Regions from separate parts of the Homo sapiens genome. Here all the other regions are linked to region 1. The links are contacts of gene promoters, found by promoter capture Hi-C in blood cells and fetal thymus (Javierre and others, 2016). All regions are on one chromosome and are shown on one strand. Each heading gives the region's core, a stretch centred on a gene start or on the middle of the fragment in contact. The rest is flanking DNA. Distances are from core to core; before and after follow the strand shown.

Evidence for each region. Contacts are between HindIII fragments. The CHiCAGO score rates a contact against its expected background, and 5 or more counts as called.
Region 2: a contact is called between a fragment that was not itself captured here and the fragment with the promoter of NSMCE2 in region 1, in 1 of 17 cell types (neutrophils). The highest score is 7.6, in neutrophils.
Region 3: a fragment that was not itself captured here is called in contact with the fragment with the promoter of NSMCE2 in region 1 in 2 of 17 cell types (fetal thymus and naive B cells); the score reaches 5.2 in fetal thymus.
Region 4: a fragment that was not itself captured here is called in contact with the fragment with the promoter of NSMCE2 in region 1 in 1 of 17 cell types (erythroblasts); the score reaches 6.3 in erythroblasts.
Region 5: a fragment that was not itself captured here is called in contact with the fragment with the promoter of NSMCE2 in region 1 in 4 of 17 cell types (neutrophils, naive B cells, total B cells and 1 more); the score reaches 8.8 in neutrophils.
Region 6: a fragment that was not itself captured here is called in contact with the fragment with the promoter of NSMCE2 in region 1 in 3 of 17 cell types (naive B cells, fetal thymus and erythroblasts); the score reaches 7.1 in naive B cells.
Region 7: a contact is called between a fragment that was not itself captured here and the fragment with the promoter of NSMCE2 in region 1, in 16 of 17 cell types (neutrophils, total B cells, M0 macrophages and 13 more). The highest score is 22.6, in neutrophils.

What each region holds. Positions count from the first base shown.
Region 1 is chr8:125,090,227-125,093,747 of GRCh38, reverse strand. NSMCE2 (NSE2 SUMO ligase component of SMC5/6 complex) reads right to left here and starts at 1,888. Exons shown (of 8, transcript NM_173685.4): 1 at 1,790-1,888. WASHC5 (WASH complex subunit 5) reads left to right here and starts at 1,956. Exons shown (of 29, transcript NM_014846.4): 1 at 1,956-2,133. RefSeq lists an enhancer at 1,797-2,016 and a silencer at 2,067-2,236. The HindIII fragment of the contact is 6,790 bases long and covers 1-3,521 here.
Region 2 is chr8:125,743,612-125,747,132 of GRCh38, reverse strand. No RefSeq gene overlaps it. Among named protein-coding and RNA genes, the nearest start is that of LINC00861, 210 kb to the left of the region's middle. The HindIII fragment of the contact is 5,314 bases long and covers 1-3,521 here.
Region 3 is chr8:124,446,670-124,450,190 of GRCh38, reverse strand. No RefSeq gene overlaps it. Among named protein-coding and RNA genes, the nearest start is that of TYW2, 2.4 kb to the left of the region's middle. The HindIII fragment of the contact is 2,106 bases long and covers 198-2,303 here.
Region 4 is chr8:124,463,966-124,467,486 of GRCh38, reverse strand. It overlaps RNF139-DT (RNF139 divergent transcript), which reads left to right. Exons shown (of 2, transcript NR_108047.1): 2 at 1-3,521. Among named protein-coding and RNA genes, the nearest start is that of RNF139-DT, 8.8 kb to the left of the region's middle. The HindIII fragment of the contact is 2,374 bases long and covers 811-3,184 here.
Region 5 is chr8:125,712,743-125,716,263 of GRCh38, reverse strand. No RefSeq gene overlaps it. Among named protein-coding and RNA genes, the nearest start is that of LINC02964, 190 kb to the right of the region's middle. The HindIII fragment of the contact is 387 bases long and covers 1,438-1,824 here.
Region 6 is chr8:124,487,469-124,490,989 of GRCh38, reverse strand. It overlaps RNF139 (ring finger protein 139), which reads right to left. Exons shown (of 2, transcript NM_007218.4): 2 at 2,372-3,521. The coding sequence ends at 3,346. It overlaps TATDN1 (TatD DNase domain containing 1), which reads left to right. Exons shown (of 12, transcript NM_032026.4): 12 at 2,294-2,492. The coding sequence ends at 2,396. Among named protein-coding and RNA genes, the nearest start is that of RNF139, 14 kb to the right of the region's middle. The HindIII fragment of the contact is 1,041 bases long and covers 1,140-2,180 here.
Region 7 is chr8:125,695,382-125,698,902 of GRCh38, reverse strand. No RefSeq gene overlaps it. Among named protein-coding and RNA genes, the nearest start is that of LINC02964, 180 kb to the right of the region's middle. The HindIII fragment of the contact is 4,191 bases long and covers 1-3,521 here.

The DNA.
Region 1 (3,521 bases), core at 639-3,138:
CTTTCTATTTATTTATTTATTTTTTGAGACAGAGTTTCGCTCTGTCGCCCAAACTGGAGTGCAGTGGCATGATCTCGGCTCACCTCAACCTCTGCTTCCTGGGTTCAAGGGATTCTCCTGCCTCAGCCTCCCGAGTAGCTGGGATTACAGGTGTGTGCCAGGACACACCAATTATGTTATTTATTTACTTATTTATTTATTTATTTATTTATTGTATTTTTAGTAGAGAGAGGGTTTCGCTATGTTGACCAGGCTGGTCTCAAACACCCGACCTCAAGTGATCCGCCCGCCTTGGCCTCCCAAAGTGCTGGGATTACAGGCATAAGCCACTGTGCCAGGGCCTCTCTTCAGTTTTCTATCTGCCCACATCTTACCCATATGCTAAAGTCTGAATGTTTGTGTCACCCAAAATGTATATGTTGAAATCCTAACTTCCAAGGTGATGGTATTAGGAGGTGGGGCCTCTTGGGAGGTGATGAGGCCCACTTTCATGAATAAGATTAGTGCCCTTTTAAAAGATGCTCCAGATAGCTGCTTTGCCATTCCACCATGTGAGGACACAGCAAGAAGCCACCTATGAACCAGGAAACAGGCCCCGGAACTGTGAGAAATAAATTTCTGTTGTTCATAAGCTACCTAGTTTATGGCATTTCCGTTACAGAAGCCCACATTGACTAAGATACCATCTTTCATGGCTTGGTTTAAGTGGTTCTCAACCAAGAAGGATTTTACCCCTCTCGCAAGGGGACATTTAGCAGTATCTGTAGACTTTGTGGTTGGCATCTAGCGGGCAGAGGCCAGGGATGCTCTTAAGCATCCTACAAAACACAGGACAGCCCTCACCCTGACCCCACAGCAAAAAATTATCTGGCCTAAAATGTCAATAGTGCATCAGTTGAGAATAACTGGTTTAAATCAATCTCTCTTGGATCCCTCCCCAGGTAATAACACTGATCTTTTTCTTCCCGGTACCTATGATCTCCAAGAAAGTTTAGAACAAGTTGTGCATTTCCTGAGTTTTTTCTCTGCATGTTATTTATAGACAATATGTTGACTTCCTTTAAATCCATGGGAGCCTTGTACAAGTCAGCCAGAGCTGCCTCTCCTTTTTCAACATGCAAGGATAATCCCTTCTCTCTGAATCCTTCTCATACAATTGCTTTTCCCTCCCTCATGCTACCATTATCCCTATCACATGCACATGTACACAACACACTCCTATTATGAAACTCATCACAACTATTTGCTCACATGTCTGCAGCTTCTTTAAACTGACACCTCCTTAAACTAGAACCCTGACATATTCTATTGCATATAAAGCAATTCCTCACACAAAATAGGGGACCAATAAAGATTTGGCCAGTTACAAAAATAACAACAGACATCATCATTTCTCGGTCACCTACAGAATGCCATAAACTGGTGTCCCGGCACTTTATTCTCCTTATCGCTAATTCTCACTGCAATCTACATAACTGAAGAGGAAATTGAGGTCCAGAGAGTTTATTCAAACGACCTTCCCGTGGCCTTACTTTTAAAGTCAGTTCAAACAAAATCTATTTGGATCAAAAATTCGTAATCTTGCCCCTACACACTTGAGGCGAAAGGATGGAGAGATGGCGTCTCGGACAGGAGGGTAAACTGTCCCAGACTCACTACCGTGGCGTGAAAAGTTCCACAACCATAATCCGGGTAGACGGACCCCCGGCTCGGAGTCCCCGTGGAGTGTCCCTGAGGGTGGCGAAACTCCTGCCACCCTCCCCATTGCCGTCCCCCGCTTCTTCCCTACCTGGTAGTCCAAGCTGTCTCCGTCTGGTGGCACCCCAATTTCCCCTGCCTAGACCCACCTCCTTTCCTCAGCCCCCTTCGCCTGCCGCTGAAAAGTGAGAGCGGGCTCTTGCGTCATCAGCCGTCGCCGGCGAGTGGTCACATGATGCCCCTCCCTGCTCCCAGCCGCTTCGGTCATGTGACCGCCTGGGGAGTCAGGGGCGGAAGTCGGGGTCTGACCCGCTCCAGGTCCGGGACTGCGGATAGAAGAGGACCGCCGCCTTGAGGGAGGGGTGGAAACTGGGTGCCGGCTCCGCGCGCGACCTCCGGCCCTGCGCGTGCGCCGTGGCGCGGCCCGGCTGACAGGTGAGTGGGGATGGAGTGAGCGCGCCCCATTTTTGCATGGCCCCCTTCCCCTCCCCGCTGGGCCGCGCTGGCCACGGGGAGGTCTGCAGAGTCGCGTGCAGCCTGGATGGGGGACTCGGGATGGAGGGCTTAGGGGCTTTCTGGGGCGGGGGCTGTAATCCAGCTCTTCGTCTCCGCTTAGGGGGAAATCATTTTGCACACCCCTTCCTCGCTTTAGGAAGCACCGTTCAGCTGCTTGGTCCGAATCTCATCCTTCCAAGTTTCCGGGAACACTGCTGTATGGATGTCGTCGTTATTTCTCTTTGCTTTTGAGAAAACTGAAAGGCTAGTAGTGAGGACTTTTACAGGCTGACAGACGTGGATTTGCATTCTAGTTATGCCATGGGCTGTGAGTTTGGGCAAGTCATTGCTGCTCGCCGCGCCTTAATGCCTTCACCTGTGACATACTGATGTCAAAATCCTTTGCATTTGGGGGAAAAAAAAAAAGTTCCCAGGGCCCTGATTCCTGGGATCGGAATCAGGATTATGATCGGACAGGAGAAAGAAAAAAAGTCACAGAGCCATAAAACTGGGTCTCCTGATTGCAAGCGCATGGAGCTCCCTCAAACATAGGTGAGGCGTAGTGAGGGCGAAGTTTTACTGTCTTTGTGCACTACAAGGGACACCTTCTCTAATTGTCCTTCACCTGCCTTTCCCAGGATTTCAGGTTCAGCCTCATTTCAGAACTTTTCTGGAAAATATATGCAGCTTGCATTTATCTTGATCAGCAACCGTTATATTTTGTTTGTGATAATGGATTTGTGGAGACCAGTGCTTCCTTTATGGAACTGAGGTTTTGCGAAAGGCTAAAAATAGACCTGCCTTCTTTTGTCCTCTGAAGAGGGTAAACTGTTTGTCCACGACAATTCGATTTCCTTAAGAAATATTATTCTGTACTCAGGGTAATTGGTGTAAGGATGTCATGCCTTATTCTTGAAAGCATGTCTTTTGATTAGGATTACTTCCCAAACTGAAAATCACAGTTCCACGCCAAATTATTAAAAATGAAGTTACCGGCACTTGTAAAAGAAAATAAGAAAATATAGTGGGATCTCTGGATTTCATGCCAATAATAATATAGCCTGTATTGAGAAAACTGATCTTCAAGTGTTCTTGATCCCTAGCACCAAGAGAACCTCTGAAAGGATAATTTAACATAGCTTCTTCTACAGTGTTTATTTGGACCTAATTCTAAAGTGGTTTTTTAAGACTTAGCTGAGTCTTAACACTTTGTAAAGCCATCCACCTACCTCTTAGCTGCAACTTGATTAGGCATTTTTAATGATGGTTCTTAGATTCTGTTCTTCAGGACTAGTCCTTCAGCCAACGAGGGGGCTATTTACCAAATA
Region 2 (3,521 bases), core at 338-2,837, 650 kb before region 1:
TACACACACTTGTTATCCACCCAATTAAAACGCTGTTCTTTTTTTTTTCTAGGTATGATATCCATTTAGAGCCCTATTAATTCTATACACCCTCTGGTTTTACAAAATCTCCAAGATTCATAAGACTGTGCTATAAATGAAACAAAGTGATTTCCAGTATTTGGGGCAACAAGATATTCTCACATATATGATGAGTGGTATCATTTAAACATGACAGCTTAAAGGGCAACTCACCCCCGCATCGGCACACCCACACCCACCCCTCCCCTGGTGTTTTTTCACTGTAGAGCTTACCACCCTCTGACAGATCATGTTTGTGTTATGTATGTGTTCATTTTCTGTTTTGCCTGGCAGAATGTAGCCTCCTTGAGGTGAGTATTTCCACTGTTTTGTTTACTGTTCTCTCCACAATGCCTAAAACAGTGGCTGGTCTATGAGAAGCACTTGTGTAAATCAGGATCCAGTCAAGCCAATACTGGCAATTTAAACAGAAAGAATTAAAATATATTAACCAGCCATAAAGTTATTGAACTGATAGCTCAAAGACTAAAAAGAGAACTCAAAGTAACTACCTAGGGAAAACGTTGAAATTACTAAAACGTGAAAACTTGAATAATGGACTCCGTGGAGCTGAAACTCAGACCTCTGGGGAGGGGTCAATGCCTGGCTGATGCTGGTGTCTCTGAGGTCAGAGAAGCCCTCATAGGCCTGAAACCCAGATCTGAGAAGGGGTCACTGCCCCACTGATGTCTTCAGGGTGGGGTGTGGTGAGGCTGGCTCTGTAAGTGCTGGAAAAACTGCAAACTAGAGTTACCCGCTGCTACACAGGGAGCTGCTGCTTCCAGGGTGATGCCCACAGGAACTGTGAGCCAACAGGAAGCCCTCGGAAACAGATGGGAAGGAACAAGTCTCCTCTTCCTCCTCCAGGCTTGATGTGTGGTCTGCAAAGTCCCAGCCCCAGAATCACAAGGCTAAGTGTGGAAAGGAAGTGTTTATGCTTAGAGGTAATGACTTTAAAAAGTTATCAGTAAAGACTTGTAGGAGAAACAAAATGAAAGCAAAGAAAGAAGAAAAGAAAGAGAGAAGAAAAGAAAAAAGGAAGGACAGATATACAGACGGCTGGACATCATTGAAGATAAAGAACTCCACGATATTTTGACTAAGACTAATAATAACAATGCATACCAATTATTGAGCTCTTAAACCATGCTAAGCTCTTTACACATCTACTGTCTTGTCTGACAATTCTATGATATAGGATTTATTATTCCCATTTTATAAATGAAAAAACTGAGAGAGTTTTAAGTACATGTCCAGGTCACAGAGTTAATAAATACTGAAGCAGGGATTTAAGCCCAACTCTCTTTAGTTCTAAAGCGCATGTTTTCTCATCCCACGGCCATTGGCTAGCATGTGTTTGGAAAATTGATATTTCAAAAGTTAGGGTTAGAATGAGAAAAGAATCATGCTCCAGTAAAGATATAGTTAAAAAATATGACCCCTAGGGTTGATTTTCCAATGAACTGGCTCTGTGCCCTCAAGTGAATTATTATCTTTGAGTTTGACTTTCCTGTAGAATGGAAATAATGAAACCTGTTCTGTGGTGTGGATAACAGATGGTTCACTTACATGAACCCACATGACATCAAACAGTCACAGTCATTCAGATGTGGTTTCCCCAAATAACTATCACCCACACTCTCTTCCTTGCTGAGCGAATCCCAGTTTTGCTTCAGGAATTAGGGTCCATGTGATTCATGGTTCCTCCTCAGCGCCAGTGTTGACTGGTTCAAGCCCATCATGTTAATTCTATCCTCCTTGCCAATGATTGGCTTAGAAATAGGCACATGCCACAGCCACAGTCCATATGAGAAAAGAAGAATCAAGCTGAAGGGGTTCTGGACACACTTTTCTCACTCTTAAAAATAAGCAAAACAGGGACTGCTTATTTTGGGCTCTGAGCATAGGTAGGTGAAAATGTGATGTCTGGAGCTCCTGCTGCCTTCTTGTAAATATGAGAAGAAGCCATCATCAAAACGCTAGCAATCCTAAAATTATTGTACCTATTGTTTTCTGAGATAACAACTTCTTTATTGTTTAAGCCCATTTTAAGTGTTCAGTATTCTGATATTTTAATTAAAAGCATTTGAATGGATCAAAAGCATTCTCTCTAGTATATCTTCATATGGCTGCCATTCCTCGCTCTCTTGCAGGTGACCTAGGCTGAAGAAGAGAGGGATGAAAAAGTTTTAAACTGGATAAGAACATAGGGTGTCAATGATTATACTAGACTGCACTGGAGTTACATTATTACATGGGACTATTCTGGAGTTATGCAAATTTTACTGGGCTGGGTTTTTTTATGTTAAAACAAAGGTGTTATTCATTTATTTTCTAATAGTGATTGAAAAAGCTAAGGAAACTCCCCATGATTTTATCCAGGGAGGGAGAAGGAGTAATCCAGAAAGTCAAGTCAAAAGGATATTGATATACCTGTCCAATCAGCTAGGTTATATGTGTATCAGCCACGCAGGGGCCGAGTTGGTGCCACCCTCACTGTGACCATGTAGCCTGTGCTGATGCCTCTTCTGCCTGTCCTCCAACCTGATTTTTGGTCTGTGTCTCTGGCCTCTTCAGGACCTAGTCCACCATTTCAGAGCATCAGTTGAGACTCTGAACTCTCAAGACAGCCTCCCAGCTGTGAAGTGCTGGCTCCCCTCCATCTCTTCATTTGCCAAATGGGAATAATAACAAAGGCCATCTCCAAGGGCAGTTTTAAGCATTACATCGCACTGTCAGCATTCACTCAACATTGACTACCTCGTTTTCTCACTCCTCTATTCAAATGCATCCTTCTCACTGACACTGCATTTTTTCATGATGTCTAGAAACAGCTCTCTTAGCATGGTCTTGGGAGTCCCTCCTATGAACTTGTCAGAGATCCTCCATGGCTTCCTGACCCCAGAAGTCCAGACTCAGACCCTGATGGAGCTTGAACCAGACCTGGAAGAAAGGTGATGTGGACAGTCCCGCAATGAGGAGGAAGACCAGCTACACTGAGCCCCCTGCACATGCCAGTGACTTTACAGTCATCATCTCATTCATTCCTTACTGCAGAATGGAAAATAGATTCAGATTTGTCATAAATCTCTGGCTTTCCCAACTCAACGCACTGAAGAAAGTCCAGGGAGCCTGGCAGGAATGCAGGAGAGGTTAAGGCAAGCATGAGGGATTGAAATCCGTGTCTCTCATTTCACCAAATCCACAGCTGTTTCCAGGGACCACACCGGTGTTCATTTTGGGGATGTAGTAACACATAGCAGTGGTCATGATTGAGGAGAGAGAGTGTGGAGTCAAGTACATTAAAATTTTAAAATGAGCTCCCATTTTTAGTGATTCTTTTTTAAAGTGGCAGCAGATCCCAGTTGAGCCTATGTGGCACCTGGGTGTCCACCTGAGTTTACTGGCATTGGTTTGCTTGGCTTTTTGTTTTATTTGTTTACTTGGCTGAATGGACCAAG
Region 3 (3,521 bases), core at 1-2,500, 640 kb after region 1:
CCAGCAGCCCTCATGGCTGCTCTGTCTATGGAATAGCCATTCTTTTATTCCTTTACTTTCTTAATAAACTTGCTTTCACTTTGCACTGCGGACTTGCCCTGAATTCTTTCTTGCATGAGATCCAAGAACCCCATGTTGTAGTCTGCATTGGGACCCCTTTCCTGTAACAAAATGATGATCTGAATTTGGAGAAAGCTTTCCCATAGCCTAATGCTGCTCTCAGGTTAGCATCAGCAGCCACCTTATTTTCTGAAAGTGAAGAGTCAGATACAGCTCCCTTTTTCCCTTTTCATGCAGATATAGTCATCACTGTTTCATTGTCCTTTGGTCCAAGAAACAACTATTTGAAAGTCAGAAGGATCTGAGTTCCAGTAAATCGTATCACCCCTCAAAATTGGAATCTTCACTTATAAAATGGAATCTAATCTTCAGAAGATTGCTATAGTGAGTAGAGACATTATAGTGTCTTAGACAATAACTAGTAAAGAGTAGATACTTAAAAAGATACAAAGTAACAAGTTGGCTAGCTCACAGGTACTAAATACCTGTTGAAATGCTTTGATATTCCTAAAGAAGACAAAGGGGAATTCCATATAGACTAAATCAAATAGTTGGATATAAGAACTGTAAAGAAACCCTATCACTTCTACTTCACTCCCGCTGTCAGAGGAGTCCAAACCAGAGTGACTCCATCTTGAATAAAGGCTGAATAAAGCAAAACCTGCTGGGTTACATTCCCAGAAAGTTAAGTACTCTCCATAATAAGACTGAGGCAGGAAAATAGGGTCTGGAGGCAGGGAACCTAAGGCTGATTCACACTGACTTCGTAGAACTAAATCAAAAGGAAAAAACCAACTATCTATGCCTAAGTAACAGAAGGACCAGAGGTTACTCCCTTTGCAAACCTGCTTTTCTGCAGGGCAGAAGGAAAATTGAAAGTACCTCTGATTGGTTGCAGAAAGCCACCAATCAATCCAAATACCCACTAGAGGTTTCCCATTGGCCACTTGGTGTGCACTCCATGCAAATGAAATAATGGCCTCAATCAGACGTTTGCATAGGAGTGCAACTTTGTAACTTTACTTCAGCCTCTGATTGCAGGCCACTACTTCATTTGCATGGGGTGAACACCAAGTGACCAGTAAGAAACCTCTAGTGGGTATTTGGACCCCAGAAGATTCTGTAACCCAGCTGTTGAGCCCCTAGACAGGGGCTGCTCCCATCCTGGGGAGTGTACTTTCATTTTCAATAAATCTGATTTTGTTGCTTCATTCTTTCCTTGGTTTGTACATTTTGTCCAATTCTTTGTTCAAGATGTCACGAACCTGGACACCCTCTACCCATAACAAGACCTTTTGGCTGAACGAGCTAATGATTCTTACTCACTAAACAAGACCCAGAACTTAAGAAGATGTCCTGATATCTTGAGAACAGAAAGCATTATTAGTTTAAGAATAGGTTTCTCTTTAAAGATAATAGTATTTTCATAAATGTTTGCTGAAATCAATAGTTACACAGAGAATAACACTACTAATACTCTGTCACAAGTGGATCACAAGCTGTTGTACTAAAGCACATGAGACCATTATTCTTAGCTAGCTACATAATTTTTGGTGTGGGGTCCTCCTCTCGCCTTCTGAGAACACCCTACTCTGTAATAGAGTAGTCTTTAATAAACTTGCTTCTTTCACTGTGCTCTGTGACTGGCCCTAAATTCTTTCCTGTCTGAGATCCAAGAACCTGTTTTTTGGGTCTGGAACAAAATTCCTTTTAAGTAACATTTCCTGTGGCAACTCCCAAGGACTTTATTGAGGTGAGACCTTCAACCCAAAAGAAATAGACTGCGCAGGACCAACTGACTGACTTTGGGTAAGAAGGGGAATACATTTTTATACCGATGAAGGACAAGGACACTTATCTAAGATTGGGTTTGAGGCCTACTTGGGAGGATTAAAGGCCCCTCACAGCTGAAAATGGGTTTAGCACAATGGGATGTTAACCATTATTCACTGTGGATTCGTCCTCCTTGTGCTCTCTGTAAGAGCTTTCCAAAGGCTGCCACTTGCCAGTTTCCTGATTGCTTTCTATGCTTTACTGCTACTTTATGAGAGAGATCTTGTTGAACTGGTCCTGAGGTTTTTAACTTTCCTTTTTCTTGTTTGCCTTTGGGTTATGGGCCATTTGCCTGTTGTTCTGGCATGTTGCTAGAAGACATTGGGGACAAATGGCTCTGTAATATTTACTTTCCCTAGATCTAGACCACTTAAATGAATTGTTTATTGTCTCTCCTTTTTTGCAAAGCTTACTTGGAATTTCGCATTTACAAGTTTTAAATGAAAAGGTCCAATGTGAAAGATTAAGCCTGGCAGCAATTATACCAGTCCCCCCTAGGTGAACTGCTCCAGGATGGAAAACTGGAGATTGCTTTTCAGCAGTTCTTTTTCATCTCCTTGCTAATGGAATGACTTTTACTTTTTGGTTACAAATGGCAAGGCCATGTAAATCTTGTCCTGCTTGCCGCTACTGGCCTGAACTTGGACATTCCTTTCTAGAACTTTGTCATTTCCCTTCTCTAGTGAAACATTTCTTTTGCTGAGTCCCCTATTGTGGTCTTTACTTTTGATTACCTAATAATCTTTTGGTTTCTGTGTTAACTTGGACAATTCTTCCCCGTGGGTTTAGGGACAGGCTTTACTTTCTTCCTTTATGTGGCTGAGAAACAAGGGACAGCCCTAAATGTTCTTGTCTAGAAACAGGGATACATCCCTTGACCCATGGCATATTTTTCTAACCAATTGACCATGTGGCTTCAGGATGACTCAGATGTTTCAGGGCAGTTGCAACAACTGCTCTTCTCATAGATGAAGACAATAAATTAACTTTGGGACAACATCTGGAGGTTTTGACCCCACACCAAATAACAGAGGCCCTAGAAGCTAAAGGGCACCAATAGATGAGTAGGGGATAGTTATTAAATTATCAGGCTTTATTGCTAGATACTCTTGATATAACTCTTAAAGTATAACAGAAGACCTTAATCCTAGCTACGTATCTACTTGGATCCAAAGGCACCCTAGATCATTCATGTACACAAGCTATGGAACAAATTTATTCCAGCTGGCAGGATTTAAAAGACGGGCCACTAGGGCTGGGTGTGGTGGCTCACACCTGTAATCCCAGTACTTTGGGAGGCTGAGGCAGGCGGATTACTTGAGGTCAGGAGTTCCAGAACAGCCTGGCCAACATGGTGAAACCCCATTTGTACTAAAAATACAAAAATTACCTGGGCGTGGTGGTGCACACCTGTAGTCCCAATTACTCAGGAGGCTGAGGGAGGAGAATCACTTGAACCCAGGAGGCAGAGCTTGCAGTAAGCCAAGGTCATGCCACTGCACTCCAGGCTAGAGACAGAGCGAGACTCTGTCTCAAAAAAGGATAATAATTTTAAAAAAGAATTAACATGTACACAAACTCCAAGTATGGCTTTCTGGTGCTTCATGCTCATGCTGCTATTTGGAAAT
Region 4 (3,521 bases), core at 748-3,247, 630 kb after region 1:
TTTACCCCAACTAACATGGTGACTCTTCCTTGCCTGCTGGTCTCCTAGCACAAGGACCTTGAACCGGGAAACCTCAGCAAGTTAAAGTTTAAAGGATCTATTATTGTGTCTCTTGATGAAAAGGTTCCTCTCTTGGGAATCAGGACTTCTAATTCACAAAGTTGCGGGGATGAGAAGTCCAAACTCCCCACTTGGGTCACTGGGAGTGAGAGTATGTGGTTATATTAATTTCCTATCACTGCTATGACACTACGAACTTAGTGGTTTCAAACAACACAAATTTATTTTCTTACAGTTCTGGAAGCCTAAAATCAAGATATCAACTGGACTGTTTTTCCTGAAGTCTTCAAGAAAAAGTCTGTTTCCTTGCCTTTTTCAATTTCTAGAGGCTACCTACATTTCTTGGCTCATGGCCCCTTACTCATATCACCCCATCCTCCTGCTTAAGTCATTGCATCTACTAGGCAAATCTGCCTCTCTCTTGTAAGAATCTTTATGATTATATTGGGCCTATTGGATAGTCCAGGATAATCTCTGTATCTTGAGATCATTAACTTAGTCATATCCACAAAGTCTCTTTTATCTTGAAGGTAAAATATTCATAGAATCCAGGATTAGGATCTGAACATATTTGGGGGCCATTATTCAGCCTACTACACAGTAGGAATTCTATTTATATCCTTTCATTCCCAAACATGCATGTTATGTATATATGAGACACAGCACCATAAAATGAGTGTTGATTTAGAGTATATACTGTACCCTGGTGGACAAGGTCATTCCATTTTCACAGGCTATTATCTTCAAGCTTTTGCTTCAGTTTCACCTTCAAAAGGGTTTTTCATCATTCCATCAGACCCGCATTTTCTCGGTTATATAGTATGTGATAGGACTAGTGGATCTCATGGTTATGTACCTGCTGATACACCTCCTTTGCTGTAAAGTGCATCCCTAAATCAAAGGCAATATTACACAGGATACATGTTGATGGATCAAATACCTGTAAACCTGTGAGTAGTAGAGCTGGCCAACAACTTATAGGCAAGGAAGTCAAACTCATACATGCAGATGGGCAGTTTCTAGTCAAGGAGAATCACTGCCCATTCTAGGATGGAAGGAATCCAACATAAATCAATTTGCTGCCCAAGTAGCTGTTTGGTATCCTTGAGGGTTGGTGCTGTATCAGGAACTTGGTGTTTAACACTGGGGAGTGGCTATTTTGTTGTTGTTGTTGTTGTTGTTTTGTTTTGTTTGAGACGGAGTTTCACTGGTTGCCCAGGCTGGAGTGCCGTGGCGCCATCTCGGCTCACTGCAACCTCTGCCTCCTGGGTTCAAGGGATTCTCCTGCCTCAGCCTCGTGAGTAGCTGGGATTACAGGCATGCGCCACCACGGCCAGCTAATTTTGTATTTTTAGTAGAGACGGGGTTTCTCCATGTTGGTCAGGCTGGTCTCAAACTCCAGACCTCAGGTGATCCGCCCACCTCAGCCTCCCAAAGTGCTGGGATTACAGACAGGAGCCACCGCGCCCAGCCTGGGGAGTGGCTATTGGATAAGTGGAGGCTATCTATTGGCTTCTTGCTCACTTGCATTCCTGCAAGATGACTACTTTGTCATAAGCCCCCTGTGCCATTCCTGGGGGCGGAGGGAGGGGGCGGTGGAGCCGATGGTTGTAGCTGCTGAAGTTTACTGGCTAAATCTGTCTACTTGGTTATTTAATGCTGCTTACATGTTGGATTGTCTCTGGCAGATAAAGATTGTGTTATACAATACAAAAAGCCCTCCTTATGTGCCATATCTGATATATTTCTCCTCTGCTTCTCCAGACTTCTTGTCCCTGATATACCAGTCTTATTCCAGACCCCTGATCAACTAGCCAACTTATTTGCCATGAAAATATGTTCTTAGTTCAAGACACTTTCTTTCCACACACAGTTGATGACCAGGAATACTGCCCCACATTATGCCTTTTGGGAGGGTTCTCCTTACTGCTGTCTTTTAAGGCCAGTCCTGTGTGGGGCTGTAGGGCAGTAGCAGTCCATTTTTGTTTTGAACCTATATTCCAAGAAACCTCAGTGAATTCAGCTCAGGCTTTTTTGTCCTCCATAAGCTAGACATGAGAGCCTCCCAAGTGGCCATAATTGTGAGCTGAGGAAGGGACATTGGTAAAGAATCAGATATGACATGGGAGCCTGACCACCTGCCTTTGCCCAGCTCATGATGGGCCTCTCTGGCTACATGGTCACTTGATGTCCATAATCAGTTCTTACCAAGGCACATTAGCATGGATAGAGTTGTTTTTGGGATTTTGCACTGCAGATGGCCCAGCCTTGCCACAGAATGCCAGGAGTCGACCTTGTGATTCTCCCATTGGAGCTTGCCTTCAACTTTCATGGCTTCTTATCACATTTACTCTTGTCCCATAGAATATCCTGAATTGGTCCATGCAACAGGGCTAAATACACCATACCTGCTAGAGAACTTTTACATGCTATGGATCCCACTGAAAACTGGCAGATTTCTATCTCACCCAGTTTACGAGTCAGAACAGTACTGCCAACTTCTGAATTCCCACAGAAGCCTACACAGCTTGGTGTGCTTCCCTGGTGGCAGAATAATTTTGGTGAAATGAGTGGGTGAGATGCAATAATTTGTCCTTTACTGTGAAGGGGATATCTTGGCATTCAAGCAGCCTACTGGGCCCTAAAAGTTTCACTGAGGTAACAGCTTGCTGGGTCTTAAGGATTATTTCCCATCCTCCAGTGTACAGTATGCTAGCTGCTTATTATTCACCTTATCCAGCTAGCATGATGTCATCAATGTGGTAGGTCATTGTGACATTATGTGGGATGTTTAGATGGTCTAGATCTCTTCGGATTATGACGCAGTGTGGAAGAGTTAACATAACCCTAAGCCAATACTATAAATGGGTACTGCTGTCCTATATAAACACAAACTTAATTCTTGTCCAGCACTCTCAGGACCCAGTTCCATACACATGCTCATGGTTCCTGTTGGTACATGTTGGTTAGATCCTGCATCTCTTTGGTCATATAAGCCCATTTGGAATTGAAAGTAGACACACAGAATGAGGGCAAAACACCTGCAGAACAGCTGCTTCATCATGGTGGGCTTTTTTCATATTAGGTTTTGTTACCTTTGAGTTTTTAAATTATGTGTAAAGCTTCGATTAAAAAAATAAAAATTATTAAAAAGAAACTGAGACAGTCTATCCACCTATCTCTATTTACCCAGTGCTGTTGTTGTGTTACATAAAATTCAATTTTAGCTTCATGTTCATGCAATATTTTCGTTTACCCTTGATTCAACCTTGACCTTTAAAAAGCCAAAAAGACAAATACCTATTTTGACACTGGTTCTGATCTCTCTGAAATTCTGTGTGACCAATGGTCAAGTAACCTTGCAGGTTATTTATCATGTCTAATCTGAAAAAAGTCATTGTATTTACTAATATTTTAATATTCACCTTATAGGTAAGCATTCTAAACATGATTGTGGCAAG
Region 5 (3,521 bases), core at 382-2,881, 620 kb before region 1:
GTTATCAAAGATTACAGGGGTCACATCAAAAGGATTCAGGATCCCACTTGAAGAGGCTTCCACAGGCCAAAGTTGGGACAATTTGAAAATGCATCAGTAAGGATAATTGCAATGGATGGAAACTAGAAAATACATTTGCAATATCAAAACATAAACTCTATTAGCAAACATGTAAGCAAAACTGCAATTAAGTGACATCTCAAATATATCATAGTGATAATGGTATTTATTTTTAAATAAAATAAAATAAAAATAATTTTTCATTTTACTTTAAATAAGATAAAATTATTTATTTTCATAATAAAAATATGTTGCCCAGGTTGGTCTCAAACTCCTGGCCTCAAGCGATCTTCGCACCTCAGCCTCCCCAAACCCCTGAGATTACAGCGTGAACCAGCATGCCAAGTCCTATAATGGTAATTTTAAACGGTCATATTTGATCAGGTGCAGTGGCTCAAACCTGTAATCCCAGCACTCTGGGAGTCCAAGGCAGGCAGATCACTTGAGGCCAGGAGTTTGAGACCAGCCTGGGCAACATGGTGAAACCCCGTCTCTAATAAAAATATAAAAATTTTGCGGGTCTTGGGGGCATACATCTGTAATCCCAGCTACTCAGGTGGCTGAGGCAGGAGGATTGATTGAACCTAGGAGGTGGAGGTTGCAGTGAGCTGAGATGGTGCCACTGCATTGCAGCCTGGGTGACAGAGTCAGACTCTGTCAAAAAAAAATAAGGAAATCAACTACTTCTTTTTTTTTTTTTTTTTTTTTTTTTTTTTTGAGACGGAGATTCACTCTTATTGTCCAGGCTGGAGTGCAATGGTACGATCTTGGCTCACTGCAACCTCCACCTCCCAGGTTCAAGCAATTCTCCTGCCTCAGCCTCCCGAGTAGCTGGAATTACAGGCACCCACCACCACACCCAGCTGATTTTTTTTTTTGTATTTTTAGTAGAGATGGGGTTTTGACATGTTGGCCACACTGGTCTCGAACTCCTGACCTCAGGTGATCCACCTGTGTCAGCCTTCAAAGTGCTGGCATTACAGGCATGAGCCACCACGCCCAGCCATCAACTTCTATTTTTAGAAAGCTAGTAAGAAAAAGGAAAAACTCAAGCATCCATCCTGCCTTTCTCGTGCAAACAATACCTAAGGGTAACCAAATAATTAATAGGGAAAATATCTTATTATTAAATGATCCCATCTATTAAATGAAGAAAGGTTATAGAACTGGAATATAGAAGGAATATAGAATCACCATTTTGCAACCCTACTACAATGACAGATCCAGTCCAAGATTTGACAAGGTTTTTGTTAAAGGCCAGATAGTATTTTAGGCTTCACAGGCCTAAATGGTCTTTGTGGCAACTACTCACCTCTGCTCAAAAGAAGCCATAAACAATACACAAATGAATATGTATGGCTGCATTCCAATAAAGCTTTACTTACAAAAACGGGCAGTGGTCAGGATTTGGCTAATGGGCCACCACAGTTTGCTGACCTCTGATCTGGATGGTGGTCATCAATGTTTCCTAACATCTCAAAAAGAGAGACAATCCTACTGACCAAGCACTCTCAAGCACGATGCAGCTAACTTAAAAACAATAGCAAAAGAAAATCATATTCAGAAATGTTTAGTTACACTTCTAAAGATTTCAAAGATCAAAGAATAAATCAAAATGTAAATCAGAAAACGTTTAGAACTAAATGACAGCAAAAACACTGCATCGAGCTTGCAGAATTCACCTAAAGTGGTACTTAGAGGGAAACTATAGCCTTTAATATTACATTAGAAAAGAGGGAAGATTGAAAATTAATGAGATAAGCTTGCAAACATTTAGGGAACTAACAACAAAATAAATCCACAGAAGTAGAGGAAAATACATACTAAAGACAAGAGGAAAAGTTAGTAAATTGGAAACAAAAATACAAAACAGAGAAAAAAAAGAGCCAAAAGCTGATTATTTGAAAAGAACAGTAAAACAGACACAGCAGGTAAACCAGCTAACATTCACACTTCAAACAGTCAGGATAGAAAGGAACCAATAAATTTCACATTAAAAATGCTGCAAATGACAGATTGGAAAGATTAAAAAGAAAGGCAATATTTTGTTTACTAATGATTGCAAACAACAAGGATTTATTCCAGGGGTTCCCAATCTTTTACCTAGGTACATATAATTCTTCGTGTTTTATTCAGAATCCATTATTTTATACTTGATTCTGCCTCTTCATTTCTCCTACTCCACTGAACTTCCCTGCTCACCCTCAGCTGATTGATAACCTCATCTCAATGTCACTGAGGAAATAGAAACCATAGGTGGCAGTCCCCAAACTTCTCTCACTTCCCTAAATTTACTAACCCACCTGCCCTGGACCCATTTTTTTACAAGCTCAAACCCTTACAGTCACATTTACAAATGACTTTTCCTGGCCTCCCTTTTTGTAACTGGTGTTTGAAGATTTTCTTCCCAACGTTGTGCTCAGCAGGTCTCCTCCATCCCACTAACAATGTCATTAACACACAAGTGAACAGGTGCAGCTGCCTCTTACCCTGGCTCCCTGACTTCTGTCATTTTCCCCCAAATCACTCTAGCAACAACAGACAATCTAATTTCTATTTTTAAAAAGGTAAATGAAAGAAAATGAATCATGCTCTTCAGCTCCAAAGCCATCCACAATCCCTCCTGCCCATCATATGAAGACTAAACTTGGTGTTGGCCATGCAAGCCTCCAGCTTCCCCCCAGCCCTGTCCTCCACTGCACTCCTGCCTTTCCAGGATATCCTTTCCCTGCAGACTTGCTCATTGAAGGACCCCTTCCTGGGAACTGCCTACATCTCCTCCCTCTCTCCCAAACTCCCATGAACTTCATCTATATAAAGGATTTGGGGGCCTCACTCATTGTATTAGTCTGTTTTCATGCTGCTGATAAAGACATACCCAAGACTGGGAGCAATTTACAAAAGAAAGAGGTTTAATAGGACTCACAGTTCCACGTGGCTGGGGGAGACTCACAGTCATGGCAGAAGGCAAGGAAGAGCAAGTCACGTCTTACATGGATGGAAGCAGGAAAAGAGAGAGAGCTTGTGCAGGGGAACTCCTCTTTTTAAAACTATTAGAGCTCATGAGACTTATTTACTATCATGAGAACAGCATGGAAAAGCCCTGTCCCCATGATTCCATTACCTCCCACCAGGTCCCTCCCACAACACGAGGAAATTCAAGATGAGATTTGAGAGGGGACATAGCCAAACCACATCATTCTGCCCCTGGTCCCACCCAAATCTCATGTCCTCACATTTCAAAACCAATCATGCCTTCCCATCAGTCCCCCAAAGTCTTAACTCATTTCAGCATTAAATCAAAAGTCCACAGACCAAAATCTCATCTAAGACAAAGTAAGTCTCTTCCGCCTATGATCCTGTAAAATTAAAAGCAAGTTAGTTACTTCCCAGATACAATGGGGATACAGGCATTGGGTAAATACAGCCATTCCAAATGGCAGAAATTAGCCAAAACAAAG
Region 6 (3,521 bases), core at 411-2,910, 600 kb after region 1:
CAACGTGGAGAAACCCTGTCTCTACTAAAAATACAAAAAAATAGCCGGGCATGGTGGTGGGCGCCTGTAATCCCAGCTACTTGGGAGGCTGAGGCAGGAGAATCACTTGAATCTGAGAGGCAGAGGTTGTAGTGAGCCAAGATCACACCACTGTGTGATCACACACAGTGAGCCAAGATCACACCACTGCACTCCAGCTTGGGCCACAGTGTAAGACTCTCTCAAAAAAAAAAAACAAAAACCTGTGCTTACTGTAAAAGTGCCACATTAAACAAAAGCCACTAAATTCTCAGGGACATTAAACAACTTTATATTCATTTTGGAATAACTGCAGCTTTGACCACTGAAGATGTATGGAAATAGCATGGCTTGGCTACAGAAGGGTTATTCGAAGAAAGATTTCCATAAACTGCATTATCAAACAGTAAAATAGGATGTCCTAAGCTCCAATAGATTTTTTTTTCTTTTTTCTTTTTTTTGGAGAGAGAGTCTCGCTCTGTTGCCCAGGCTGGAGCGCAGTGGCACAATCTCAGCTCACTGCAACCTCCACCTCCCAGGTTCAAGCAATTCTCCTGCCTCAGCCTCCCGAGTAGCTGGGACTACAGGCGTCCACCACCATGCCTGGCTAATTTTTTTTGTTTTACTAGAAATAGGGTTTCACCATATTGCCCACACTGGTCTCGAACTCTTGAGTTCAATCTGCCTGCCTCAGCCTCCCAAAGTGCTGTGATTACAGGCATGAGCCACTGGGCCCAGCCCAATAGATTTCTTATAAGCGATTTCAATAAAATGAATTTGCTATGCAATATAATCTTAGCAAAGCTGCTGTGACCTTCAAAACTGTGTCATCAGCAGCATTAATCAAGAGTTCCAATTCTGAGAAGTGCATACAGAGGGACATTCAGTAGTTTCCTAAGAAAAATGGATTTTCACTGTCTTAATTTAAATGTTAATAGATTTGCTTTTAGTGTATCTTGACTGTCAGATAAAATTTTAGTGTAGTGTTTGCTTAGTATAAACATCAAGCAAGGCTTTTGTGTCACATTACAAAACAATTTTTTAAATTCCCATTAATCTTAGATCTCCATCCTTAATTCCTTTAGGTGTTAACATTTAAGATACTAAGGGAACAAAAAGCTTAGGCAAAGAATATTTAAATGTTCAATTTGGACTTTGGAACTTTCTAATTCATGTATTAAAAATCTTCCACTTATATATAATAAGTATGGAGACACTACGGATCATCATTACTGTAAGCACAGAAACTGAAAGATGCGGCCAGGCGCGGTGGCTCACACCTGTAATCCCAGCACTTTGGGAGGCCCAGGTGGGGTGGATCACAAGGTCAGGAGTTCAAGACCACGGCCAGCCAACATAGTGAAACCCCGTCTCTACTAAAAATACAAAAATTAGCTGGGTGTGATGGCAGGTGCCTGTAATCCCAGCTACTCAGGAGGCTGAGGCAGGAGAATCACTTGAACCCAGGCGGCAGAGGTTGCAGTGAGCCGAGATCGTGCCACTGCACTCCAGCCTGAGCAACAGAGTAAGACGCCGTCTCAAAAAAGAAAGAAAAAAGAAAAAAAAAAGAAAGGAAAGAAAAAGAAAGGAAAGGAAGGGAGGGAAGGGAAGGAAGAGAGAGACAGAGAAAGAAAGAAACTGAAGGATGGACACCTGGGCTTATTTCTCTCGCAAGGGTAGAGGTACAGAAAGCCCTCGCCCTCAATAACCACACATTTTTCCAAGTAAATATTACTTTTGCAGCAACCTAATACCTTCATTTGCTGTCTCTCAAGGACTAGTTCTCTAGCAGTAGATTTCCAACTGTGGCTGCTGTCCCACAGTACAAATTACGTTGTGACTTAGGACACACATACATAATAAAACCTAACAAAAAATGGAACAGTACTTACCCTTATTGAGTACAATGTACTTGTCAATGTTTAAAATGCTCATCATGACCCACTAATGAACATGCTATGACTCACAATTGAAAAGGACTCTTCATTTCCACTCAGTTAATGCTATAATTGGTGAACATAATACAGATGGCTGCTTTAATAATTTACTTGAACCTGGTTCTTAGCTCTAGTTATATGCAAGACAGTCCATAAATCTGTTTCCAGTTACTGGCAGTAAGTTTTTCTATTGATATTGCTGAAAAACTTAATAACTGTTAAGCTTTATTATATTAAAGGTGTGCCAATATTTTCCTTTGTGTGGAAAAATATTATATAGCTTTAGAACTAAATGTATACTTGGAGATTTAACCATTTTTGTTTTTGTTTTGTTTTAGTCAAATATTGGAGATAATGTCAGCAGTGAGAGATGAGGATCCACTGGAATTAGCCAATACACTATATAACAATACTATTAAAGTATTTTTTCCTGGAATATAATTGGTATATGTCTTCCACTTTCCATCATGTATGTAAAATTTCATAGTAAAACTTCCTGATAGTTTCAATAAAGAAATTATCTGCAAGTTGTCTAAAGAAATACTATATATCGGTACACACCATTCCCCACCATTCCCCTTCTTTTTCTCGTAAAATCAGATCAGGATGTTTTTATATCATTGAGTATCTTAGTTTAAAACAATTTAAAAAAAACTATTTTTGTTTTGTAATATCTTCAAAAGAATGAAAGGACAATTTTATGACAATACTGCAGACACAGAATGGCTAACAAATATACAATTTTACATAAAAAACATTTAGCACATTCTGGTTTATATCAAAGTTTAGTTGATACAGTTTATTTGTCAACCCTCAGTCTCTCTCTGAATCAGGACTTTCAAACTCAGCTCAATTACACTGCTACTCAAGTTTCAAAAAAGGTCCTCAGTTGCTTCTGGCAGCTAATTTTTTCTTTAGTTTTAAAATACTCTCTCATGTCCTTTATCCTCTGGTCAAATTATTTTATTTCCTTGACTTTAATGTGGTTTCCTGATTTGCATTTTCATTCTCCCACCCATTTCTAAAGAAAAACTGAGGTCCAAAGTTACATTATATAATTTCATTGAAGAATATTTGGCACAGGTGACGCACCATATGATCATTACATCTATTAAAAAGCTATTTGTTCAAATTTTGTCATAAAAATGTGAAAACATTTTATTCTATGTACAATAATGTACACAAATTTAAACAGGTCACCAAAGAGACCAGAAGTAATTAAAGAGGTATATTTACAGTAGCACATCACAGTAAACGGAAAACCATTCACAGATTCAACATTGATACTGTTTTTGTGCTTGGTTACACACTGAAGGTGAAGGATATTACTCCATTTTGGATGAACTGAATTTTAAACAAATACCTCAATCATTAATAAATGCTATTTTCATCAGTCAGTATCATCATTAAATTCTTCAGCTGCTGCGCCTGTGTGCTGAATCACTCCATTTCTTTCTCTTTGAACATCATCATCACAATCTGTACTGTCATCTTCGTTCAATTCCCTGTCAGATTCAGCAGCAGCTTCTCTTACAGCTTCCTCTGGAGTTTCATTGGGTGGAATAA
Region 7 (3,521 bases), core at 588-3,087, 610 kb before region 1:
GCAGCTTCTGCATTTCAGGTCATTGCAGTGAGTAAGGACACAGACAGGCTTTATAGATAGAAAGTGAGACTATATCAAAGTGCTCAAAGCAGGAAGAGAGAGATGTGGGGCAAGGAAAAGAGAGGAGAGCAGCATTGATTCCATTTTCGGAGACAACACAAAAGGCAGGCCCGCTACCTCCTTGCCTGTTCTGCTCAGTGAAGAGAGAATCTCAACCCCCAGCTACGTGTCCCCAAAGGGTCAAATGGGATCATCACAGAGCCTCCCCGGGTGACTTGGCCTTGTCTTTTACACAGAACTGTAGCATCCCCTGCCACAGAGTATTTGGACAAGGCTTTGGGGCTTCTGAGAGCCATTCCCCACCATGCCCTGCCGTCCTGGGAGCATGCCTACCAGAAATCCAGGACACAATTCACGTCTTCTCGGACCTGCACACACTCAGCCGCTGGCCCGGCTGGAACTCAGCTGAGCCCCTATGTGGACGGTTCAAGAAAAACAATGCCTGACAGAATGAAACCTCACTTCCTCATGTGTAACCTGACATGAGGGCTTTCCCCACAACCCTTCATGGAAGCACAGGTTTCCACACTGCTTAGATGAGAAACAGAGGTTTGAAGTAATCATGCCAAAGCTCAGGCCAAGTCAGTGATGCTCTTGTCACTGTGTTGTGGCTGCTAGGAGGAGACGGTATCTGTTCCTGACCCAAAAAGTCCCATTTCACATTTCACAAGTCATATATGACTAAAGATGATCACTGTCAGCCCCCCAGCTCAAGGACAGGAGCATCTAAAATAAATCATCTACCAGACACTAACATAAATCATTTCATTTCAGCCTTACCATGACTACGATAAGGTCAGAATCATGACACCAATTGTACAGACATTGGGGGAGCTAAAAGTGATTTATCAAAGATCCAAGAACCAGTGACAGAAGATGGCATCCCAAAACCTATGCTCTTTCCACTACCATAGAGAGCACCATTGTGAACAATGCAGATTCCTGGGCTCCACCCCAGACCAGCTGGATCAGAATCTCTGAGGGTGGAACCCACCAATGTGCTCTTAAAAAGCCATTTCTGGCTGATCCCAGTGGCTCATGCCTGTTATCCCAGCACTTTGGGAGGCTGAGGCAGGAGGATCACTTGTGGCCAGGAGTTTGAGGTCCAGTGAGTCAGTGAGCTATTATTGCACCACGGCACTCCAGCCTGGGCAACAGGATAAGACCCTGTCTCTAAAAAAATAAAAATAAAAAAATAAAAAGTCATTTCTCTCCATGATTTGCGTAAGAAGAGTGATTTATGCCACATTTTTATGAAAGTGTAAGACGAGTGATTTATGCCACACAAAATTCCAGCAATACTAGGCAATGGCCCAAGATTTGTCACTAGAGCACGTGGCCTGGGAGGCTGATTCACAGAGTTAAGAACATGGTATCTGGAGCCGGGTTGCTTGGGTTTGAAACCTGGCTCTGCCACATACTAGCTACGTCACCTGGGGCAAGTCACGTATTCTCACTGGGCCTCAGTTTCTTCCTCTGAAAAATTGGTGTCAAAATAGTACATACCTGTATGGTTGTCTGGGAGATTGAATGAGTTAAGTTTGTAAAGAGCTTAGAACAGTGTCTGCCAGAGAATAAACACCCAAAATATTGTCATTACTGTTATATGATTAATTGTCCAAAATGACACAGGAAAGAGGAGAATTCTTGATACTGTCCCTGAAGGAGGAGGTCAAAGGGCAGAGTTTCAAAGTATTCGGCTGGATAAAGAGAAAAGAGATGAAATAACTAGCTCTTTCTTTAGTTTCTAGGCTGGTTCTTACGACACTGTTTATTCCTTGGGAAATGTCACCAGGAGCAAGTCACTGCAGTTGAGACGGGTCATGAATCGTTCTGCAGGGCTGAATCACAGCCGAAGCGTGGCCCAGGATGGTCAGGTGAGCCCTGTGACGGTTCCTGTTGCTTAAGCGCTGACTCCTTTCCCAAAAACTGAGCTGTGTTTGCTTTTGTTGGCCACCAGGGGGAAACAAATAGGACTTCCTCGACCTTACAAAGAATGAAAGGTCTGTTTTTGTTGTTGTTTTTTTTCCAACTTTTAAGTTCAGGGGTACAAGCACAGGTTTGTTACACAGGTAAACTTGTGTCATGGGGGTTTGTTGTACAGATTATTTCATCACCCAGGTATTAAGCCCAGTACCCATTAGTTATTTTTCCTGATCTTCTCCCAACTCCCACCCTTCAATATGCCCCAGAGTGCACTGTTCCCCTCTATGTGTCCATGTGTTCTCATCATTTAGCTCCCACTTATAAGTGAGAACATGCAGTATTTGGTTTCCTGTTCCTGCATTAGTTTCCTAAGGATAACAGCTTCCAGCTCCACCCATGGTCCCAGAAGTTCTTCTTAAACTCCTTGATAATTTGGACTATTTCCACTGCTTTGTTTTCACTCGTGTTATTTCTTCAAATGGCCCTACTTTCAACTTTTAGCTTGTTGTCAAGCTCCCAGCTGAATACTTCGTGGTAAAACTAACTCAAGCCAGATACTGTGCTGAGGGCCATGGGAGATAAGAAGAAACATAAGGCATTGTCCTTCCCTGGAGGGCAAGGGGGCATAAGCAATGCCTGCTGTGCACCAGACACTGTGCTGGGTGCCTAACATAAATTCTCTCATTTAATCCTTGCAACCACTACGATGCGGAAGGCCTTATATATTCATTGGTCAAGGCTTGGTTCCACAGGAATAATATTCAAGGCACTATTATTAAGCGCCAGGCACTGTACTGAGCCCCTTAGGAGGATTTTCTCATTAACGTCTCAGAATTACCCAATGAGCAGGTGCTACAATTATCTTCATTTTAAGCAGAAGAGACAGAGGCTTAAAGAAATTAAATAACTTACCCTCACCCAAGAACACAGAGGTAATAAGATAGATGGAATTCAGATATGAACCCACGGAGCCTGGTTATAGAACCAAAGCCCCCATCCTGGCCGCCTCACTGGTCCTGCCACAGAGCCTTTGACCCCTGCCCACAGAGCATTCTTTCTTCTCTGAATTCCAGTTGCATTTATAGCTTAGCTACTAGGGATTTGTATTTATTTCTTCTCTCTCACACGCAGGTAAATTTCACTCTCTGATCTTATTTCACTCGCCAGCCCCTTTCAGGAAAAGGACAAGTTCCTTGAAGACAGTGACCCTATCTTATTCTTCTTTCTATGTAGCTACCTTTCATCGAGCACCTACTGCGTCTGGCATTATAAAGGGCACTTTCATTGTTTAGACTTGTTCCCAGTGACACTGGGAAGTACATGTTATTATTCATATTTTATAGATGAAAGATTAAGGCTCAGATGTTAGGTGACTCTAGGCCAATGTCACCTAGCTTCCAGCTAGAAAATGCAGGACCCCTAAGCCTATGATCTCCCCATTGCCCTAAGCTACTGTGCTCCCCTCTGCTTTGCATAGAACTGCTCTGAGTGGAAGGAGGCCTCTGAACATGAACTTGAAGACATCCGCTGGAGTC